2 separate regions of the Homo sapiens genome follow, and region 1 is linked to region 2. Evidence: promoter capture Hi-C in human tissues and cell types (Jung and others, 2019). All regions are on one chromosome and are shown on one strand. The core of a region is centred on a gene start or on the middle of the fragment in contact, and the rest is flanking DNA. Distances in the headings are between cores, read along the strand shown.

Evidence for each region. Contacts are between HindIII fragments. The study calls those that stand out against the background at their distance.
Region 1: a contact is called between a fragment that was not itself captured here and the fragment with the promoter of WDR73 in region 2, in 2 of the 25 tissues and cell types used here (adrenal gland and hippocampus).

The regions. Positions count from the first base shown.
Region 1 is chr15:85,062,894-85,066,903 of GRCh38, reverse strand. It overlaps PDE8A (phosphodiesterase 8A), which reads right to left. Exons shown (of 22, transcript NM_002605.3): 2 at 2,478-2,534. Among named protein-coding and RNA genes, the nearest start is that of PDE8A, 83 kb to the right of the region's middle. The HindIII fragment of the contact is 4,507 bases long and covers 59-4,010 here.
Region 2 is chr15:84,652,465-84,656,714 of GRCh38, reverse strand. WDR73 (WD repeat domain 73) reads left to right here and starts at 2,432. Exons shown (of 8, transcript NM_032856.5): 1 at 2,432-2,481; 2 at 3,016-3,083; 3 at 3,913-4,001. The coding sequence starts at 2,441. NMB (neuromedin B) reads left to right here. Exons shown (of 3, transcript NM_021077.4): 3 at 1,306-1,583. The coding sequence ends at 1,341. RefSeq lists enhancers at 2,446-2,685, 2,112-3,079. The HindIII fragment of the contact is 11,541 bases long and covers 1-4,250 here.

The DNA of each region.
Region 1 (4,010 bases), core at 1,063-3,562, 410 kb before region 2:
GTAATGGCATGATCTTGGCTCACTGCAACCTCTGCCTCCCAGGTTCAAGTGATTCTCCCACCTCAGCCCTGCCGAGTAGTTGGGCCACAGGCACATGCCACCATGCCCAGCTAATTTTTGTATTTTTAGTAGAGACGGGGTTTTGCCATGTTGGCCAGGCTGATTTCGAACTCCTGGCTTCAAGTAATCCTCCCACCTCAGCCTCCCAAAGTGTTGGGATTACAGGCGTGAGCCACCGCGCCTGGTCAGAATCGTCATTTCTGTGTGTGTGTGTGTGTGTGTGTGTGTGTGTGTGTGTGTGTGTGTGTGTGTGTGTGTGTTTTGGGGGGATGGTGGGTGGGCAACAGGGTCTTCCTCTGTTGCATGGGCTGGTGTACAGTGGTGTGATGTCAGCTCACTGCAACCTCCACCTCCAGGGTTCCAGTGTTCTTGTACCTCAGAGCCCCCAGTGGCTGGGAGATTACAGGTGTGCGCCACCACATGCCCGGCTAATTTTTGTATTTTCAGTAGAGATGGGGTCCCTCCATGTTGCCCAGGCTAGTCTAGAACTCCTGGACTCAAGTGATCCACCTGCTGTGGCCTCCCAAAGTGCTGGGATTGCAGGTGTGAGCCACTGCACCTGGCCATATGCCTACTTTTTTGCTAAGAAACCCACTGGCAGAACTCAACAAAGATTTAGTTAAGCATTTTATCTTGAAACTAAAAGAATTAAAACACATTAATATTTATTTTAGCTGAAAGAAAGTTAACTGGGTAAGTTCTCAGATGGTGAATGCTAATATCTTGGTGAAATTATTAGAATACTTAATCCTATAAATAATGTATTGAAATGTTTGACTCAAGATTTTATGTAATTCCTCCAAGTTAAAAAAAAAATTGCTTTGATTAAAAGAAGAAAGATTTAAAGTAGACCAAAATGTGACACTTCAAAGCCTATCAGTTAAGTGACACAGTCACCAGGTGCAAGAGGTAGCATCTGTGCCTCTGCCCAGGACAGTGGCTGGCTGCCCCAATCACGTCAGTCCTGGCCTGGAGCAAGCGAGGCCTGTATCCATAGCGTCTTCCTTATCCAGCCAGCCTCCTTCCCTCTCTCTCCCTGCTATTCCCACTCCCAATCTGGTTCAGGAGCACCCGTGCTCCATCCCTTCAGAAGCAGACTGAAAATGGGGCAACAGTGGTAAGGAGGAGATGGGCAGCCTGTGAAACAGACTGCAAAGCTATCAGAAACCCTCCTAAGGCTTATTTCTTCCGAGTTTACTCAACTACACAAAGACCATACATGCAAAGAACTAAGAGCACACATTTCTGTCAGCACTTCTCATATATTTTTAAATGTAATAGTGAATGAAACATGTTCATGTGCGGGGAGCATGGATAACTTCGCTGAATTTCAATTGGTTGTTTTCTTTTTTTTTTTTTTAATTATACTTTAAGTTTTAGGGTACATGTGCACATTGTGCAGGTTAGTTACATATGTATACATGTGCCATGCTGGTGCGCTGCACCCACTAACTCGTCATCTAGCATTAGGTATATCTCCCAATGCTATCCCTCCCCCCTCCCCCCTCCCCACCACAGTCCCCAGAGTGTGATATTCCCCTTCCTGTGTCCATGTGATCTCATTGTTCATCAATTGGTTGTTTTCTGTCTCATATTTTGAATTAGATAAATTACAGATATCTTCTCTCTGACAGAGCTGATTCAGCAACATTGAAAAGACAATCTTTTTACTTTTTATATTGGAAAATTTCAAATCTACAGAAACGTGAATGAAAATGAACACTAAACATGCCCTTTCTCTACATTCATCAATTAACATTTTGCCACCTTTGCTTTGCTTTCTCTCTCTCTCTAAACACATACATGTACATACATACAATTATACACATTTTTTATTTATTGCTGAACCAATTTTTTTTCTTTTGTTTGTTTGAGACAGGGTCTCACTCTGTTGCCCAGGCTGCAGTGCAATGGTGTGATCATGACTCACTGCAGCCTTGACCTCCCGGGCTCAGGTGATTCTCCCATCTCAGCCTTCCAAGTAGCTGGGACCACAGGCACACACACCCCCATGTCCATCTAATTTATTGTTGCTGTTGTTGCAGAAACTGGGTCTCCCTATGTTGCCCAGGCTGGTTTCAAACTCCTCAAGGACTCCTCAAGCTCAAGAGATCCTACTGCCTCAGCCTCCCAAAGTGCTGGGATTATAGGCATGAGCCACCGTGCCTGACCTATTGCTGAACCAATGAAAGTAGGCTACAAACACTTCTTCATCTCTAAACACCACAATGTGTATTTCTAAGAACAGGATATTCTCTTATATAACTATAATACTGTTACAGAGTTCAGGGAATTTAACATTGGTCCAAACACTATTATCTAAATGAAAGACTATTTTAAATGTGTAAATTTAGCTCCACCTCCACCCTTTTTAAAGAAAATCAGCATGTGAAAAATACAGCATCGTTCATTATTACCTGAAGTTGATCTTGATGAAATCTCATGGGGCCAAACTGCACATCAGCTACTGCTACCTGTAAGAAAGAGATTGGCTTAAAAATGAAAAGACAACGGAGAAAGAGAAGCTTAACTTTTTCTCTCTCTAAACAGTGCCAAAAATGAAAGCAAAATTTCTATTCTAGAGGCAAATAAAGTAAATAGTAGATAAATGAAATGATTATGAGGAATCCTAAGGATCTCCTTATAGCCCCCAGGAAAAGTGGGGAGCAGGAAAGGAGAAATAAAATGAACAAATAAAATGAATGTGATTCTGGCTTTGCCTTTTACTAGCTACATGTGACTTTAAGTGAATTAATCTTCCTCAGCCTCAACTTCTCATTTGTTAAAGGCCAAATGAGATGACAATATAGAGAGCCCCCCAATAATAGATACTAAATAAACGCTGATTCCCTCTGTGCCTATTTCCATTTTTTTCCTGATGGACAATGAAATCTTACACCCAAATGGCACATGAATAATGCAATCCAGCAGTCAGAACCATGGAATGTCATTGAAAAATGGTTGACACTTTCTATTTTACAGAGGAGCATAATAGCACTTACTGTAAGTACTTATCCATTTGAGAATGTAATGCTAAATCAAAGATAAATGTAATATCATAACCAAACCCCAGTGAGTAATAACAATCACAGCACCAATGGAAGACTTAGTGTGTTCTGGTTACTGTGCTAAGGGCTGCACATGTTATTTCACTGAATCTGATAGTAATGTGGTGAGAGTTTATAGCTAGAAAACTGAAGTTCTAAGTACCCTGCATTAAGACCACACAGCAAGTGGTAGTGCTGGGATTCCACCCAGGTTTGTTTAGCTCCATACACTGTGCTGTAAACTCAGGACCACCAGAAGATTTGAATAGCCTGTATACAACACAAAGGGGCCCAAGGAAGGGAGAAGGTGGGACTGAAAACCAGCTCCAGGTGATGAATTCTGGCACTGGGCTGCTACCCAGGGGAAGAGACACATTTTGTAATTTGCCCAGTGACTCTGTAGGTGTTGATGAGATCCCAATCTGGGCCTCTGTGTGATGGTATGATTCGTCACAGCAACAGAAGAACTAGATCCATAAGACTTCCTACAAAATGTTTCCCAACTGACTGCCCTCCTCCAATCTCTCCCCTCAAACAGTGACCTATTCTAGTAAACACATTACGAAGTTTGCTTAGTGATGGGAGAAAAATCCACATATATTTTTAACCATGAGAAGCTGATGTCTAGTAATTATGGGCCACTGGCTCAGTTTCTGCATTGCTCTGCAATAATTTTATCTCTCAGAAGGCATAAAAAGAATGAGGGTCCCTAATATTCTAGACCAAAGACTGAGGAGGAAGATTCTTCAGTAGGGTGAAAGAGTCAGAACAGACAGTGCATGGTTATTACCTATTCTCTTGAGTTGTGTAACTATGGGCCAGTCTCATACTGGTGTAACTGGATGCCAAAGCCAGAATTTTTATGAGGGAAGATGGTCCAAGAGGTCCACAGGAGAGTCTTAA
Region 2 (4,250 bases), core at 1,183-3,682:
CAGAGTCTGGACCTTGTTCACCTGGACTGGAGCTCTTCCCATTCTCTCATCTGCCTCAGTATCCAGTGGTAGGGTTTAGCAACTTCAGTACATTTGACGTTCTAGGCTGAATCACTGTTTCTTGTGAGGGCTGACGTGTGCATCATGGGATGTTTGGCAGCATCCCTGGTCTCTACATACTAGATGCCAGTAGCATCTTTCCCCCCCATCAAGTTGTGACAACTGAAAAGACCTCCAGACATCACCAGATGTCTGCTGGGGGAGAGGGCCCCAAATCATTATTGGTTGTCAGTCACTGATCTATGGGATTCAAGACTCCAAAGCTGGAGCCAAGCTAGCCTCAAGGTATAGCCCCGCTGAGTGGCAACTCCTTCATTCCCTGCTCCTGGTGCTGTCCTTACTGCACACCACCCTCCCTGGTCCTGCTGCTGTGTGCAGAAGGCAGTGTGATGTGGTAGAATGTGGGTTTTGACTACAACGTGCTGGGCTCATAACCTAGCTACTTAGTAGCTGTATGACCTTAGAAATGTCCCTTAACTTCTCTAAAGCCTCAATATTCTTCACCCATAAAATGAAGATAATAAGGCCCATCTCCCATTAAATGAGACCATTTATGTCAAATGCTCAGCATGGTGCCTGGCTCATAGACAGCCCTTAGTAGATGCGAGCTCTTATCAGTCTGTGAGCTCCCTGGCGGCACCTGTTGTAGACTCGCCTTCATATCCCCCAGTGTGCCTAGCATATAGTGTGTGCATTTTGAAGGGAGAGGCATTCCCTAGAAAAGGTCCAACCCAGCCTCAACCAACATCCCTGACTTCCTGAGGCACAGAACCAGCAGCCCCTGAGGACCTCAGATGTAAGGCCTAGGAGCTTGGGCTGGCTGAGTCTGAAGGGAAACAATGTCACCTCTAATGCCCTTGGTTTTGAAGCTCTGACACATGCAGACCAACTAGAGAATCTCAGAAGCAGCAGTGCCTACGTCTGGGGCTTCAGAGTGAGGTCTGGGGCAGAGCTGGGGTGGGGGAGTGAGGACGCTGACACTAGCCCAGCACCAAGCACTGTATTTGGATTTTCTTCCACGATCTTCTTTGACTGTCATGACCACCCTGGGTGGTTGGGGCTGTGTTCTGAGAAAACTACTGCCCCGACCCCTCCAAGGCAATTCAGGGTGCTCTGGGGCCTGCCTCAGCTGACAGCCTGCTGGTGCCCACCTCTGCAGACATCTGGCACTTAGGAATGGCAGGATGCCCCTATCTTTATCAGGAGCCCCTCCCTGGCTCAATTCTTCTGTATGTTTCTCTTCAGTACAGGAGGCTGCTGGTACAAATACTGCAGAAATGACACCAATAATGGGGCAGACACAACAGCGTGGCTTAGATTGTGCCCACCCAGGGAAGGTGCTGAATGGGACCCTGTTGATGGCCCCATCTGGATGTAAATCCTGAGCTCAAATCTCTGTTACTCCATTACTGTGATTTCTGGCTGGGTCACCAGAAATATCGCTGATGCAGACACAGATTATGTTCCTGCTGTATTTCCTGCTTCCCTGTTGAATTGGTGAATAAAACCTTGCTCTTTACATACAATGCCTGGTCCTCTCCTTTCACCCGTCTTTTAGGGGATGGGAGGAAAAGGGGGCTGGAGGGCAGAGTGTTCAGTGAGATGGGGCTGGCTCAAAAAGTCCAGAATACCCCATGCCATGGCACCAGCCTGGCACTGACTCTGGCCTCCTACCCATTCATTCAGCAAGCAAATAACGCCTGTTGCATGCCAGGCTTCGTGCCAGGCGCGGGGTTCTACTCTCATCTCTGCCACCTACTGGCGCAGGCAAGTGTCACTAGTTTCCTCGCTAGTAAAAGGGGGCTGCAGACACTACACTGCCGGGCTTTACTCAATACCCCCGCCGGACTTGGAGGGGAGCGCCGAGTTGGGATCCAGACCCTGCCGGCCGCTTCCTCTCTTCTCTGGCCGTCAGAAGGGTTGCCAGCGTTAGCAAATAAAAATACTGGACACCCAGTTAAATTCGAATTTCAGATAAACAATAATTTTATCTAATAAAATGTACCAAATATTGCATGAACATACTCGTAAGAAAGAAATTATTCACCGTTTTTCTGAAATTCGAATTTAACCGGGCGGTCCTGTATTATTTCTGGCCTTGGAGCATTCATTGCCCCTCTCTTGGGCTGCAAACACCTGGCCCTAAAACGGGCGATCATTTGGTCCTCAGGTCCTGCTTGGAGCTGACAGCGGGAAAGTCCCGATTTCAGGTCACTTTTCCCGGAGCTTTCGCGGAGAAAACCCGTAACCCACCCATGCCGGGCCGCAGCTCAGCCTGTTAACCCCGCCCCTAACGGGAGGCCCTGCCCACATCTCGCGAGAGCCGCGCGGCCCCCGAAGGCTCGCAGGCGGAAGTGAGACGCCGGAAGCGGTCGTTGCCATGGATCCTGGGGACGACTGGCTGGTGGAATCCTTGCGCTTGTAAATCGTACGGGGCTGGGACATGGGAGCTGGGCCTGGAGCTTGCCTGGCGGGCGGATGGGTGTGGGTGGAGGCACGTTGGGGATCCTGGTGCAGAGTGGGCCAGCTGTGGCCTCGGGGCTCGCCACCGTGGAGGACTCCGCCTGGGCCTAGGCCCCCATCTCTAGGAAATGGCTCCTTCCTGCGTGCGCGCGTTGTGAGATTACTAGTAAGAGCCGCGCTTGTGAAGACGCAGTGCCCAGTTAGTTTGCGCCAGCCTCTGAGTTCAGCTCAGAACACAGATGATCTCATTGATTCCTCACGTCAACCTTGGGAAATCTGGGTACCCTGGGACGTCCACACATGAGGACCGAGGCTCAGGGACATCAAGGGACTGGCCTGGTCCCAGAAACAGGGAGTAAAATGGGAAGTAAACTCAGTCCCACGTCTGCCTGACTCCAGAGTTTGGGCCACTGAACCATGCGGCTGCCATCTTGGAGTTCTTTGAGCTGTGAAGTGCTGTGCATCGTGTGATTCTGTGTCCCTTTTGTGCAGGTACCAGGATTTCTATGCATTCGACCTGTCAGGAGCCACTCGAGTCCTTGAATGGATTGATGACAAAGGTGGTATACCTTTCTAGCCCTGAAGGAGAGGGAATCTCACTCCTGAGCTGGGTTTCAGGAGCTAAGCCTAGAGGGACCCAACCCACTCTTCTGGGCACCTGAGAGTCACTTGTAGCAATTTGATGCCCCATCAGCACTAATATTCCTCTTATTAAGATCTCTGACCGGGAGCAGTGGTTCACGCCTGTAATCCCAGCACTTTGGGAGGCCGAGGCAGGCGGATCACCTGAGGTCAGGAGTTCGAGACCAGTCTGGCCAACATGGTGAAACCCCGTCTCTACTGAAAATACAAAAATTAGCCGGACGAGGTGGTGCACACCTGTGTACCAGCAGCTACTGGGGAGGCTGAGGCAGGAGAATCACTTGAACCCAGGAGGTGGAGGTTGCAGTGAGCTGAGATCACGACACTGTATTCCAGCGTGGCTAACAAAAAAAGTCTTCAGGCTGGGCACTTCAGGAGGCTGAGGCAGCGGGCAGATTGCTTGATCCCAGGAATTTGAGACTAACCTAAGCAAGGAAACCCTGTCTCTACAAAAAATACAAAAATTAGCCGAGCATGGTGGCTCACGCCTATAATCCCAGCTACTCTGAAGGCTGTGGTGGGAGGATCACTTGAGCCTGGCAGGTTGAGGCTGCAGTGAGCTGTGATCGGACCACTGCACTCCAGCCTGGCTGACACAGCGAGACCTTGTCTGAAAAAGACACAACCAGGTACTCAATTCCTCCATACAAGGCTGCACAGTGAAGGAATGTATCCTTACTTCGGGGGATTGCATGGTCTGCAATCTTTCTAACAATTTGTGACAGCTACCTCTGCTTCTTTTTCCAGGAGTCTTTGTTGCTGGCTATGAAAGCCTGAAAAAGAATGAAATTCTTCATCTGAAATTACCTCTCAGACTTTCTGTAAAGGAAAACAAGGTAACTTAAAATATAAATGCTGAGTATGTCAACTTTTATTTATTTATTAAACATTTGTGGAGCTCCTGTTATCTACCAGGTATTGTCCTGGATACTAGAAAGAGAGAAAGCGCTAGGCCTGCCCTTCTAGTCTAACAGAGGGAGGCACATATGCACAGAGATAAATGCTGTAGAATGTCTCGTGGTTTACAGAGGGCTATCAGAGGAGGAGGTCAGTTATACTTTATCAGAAATAGATTTAGGGAGCGA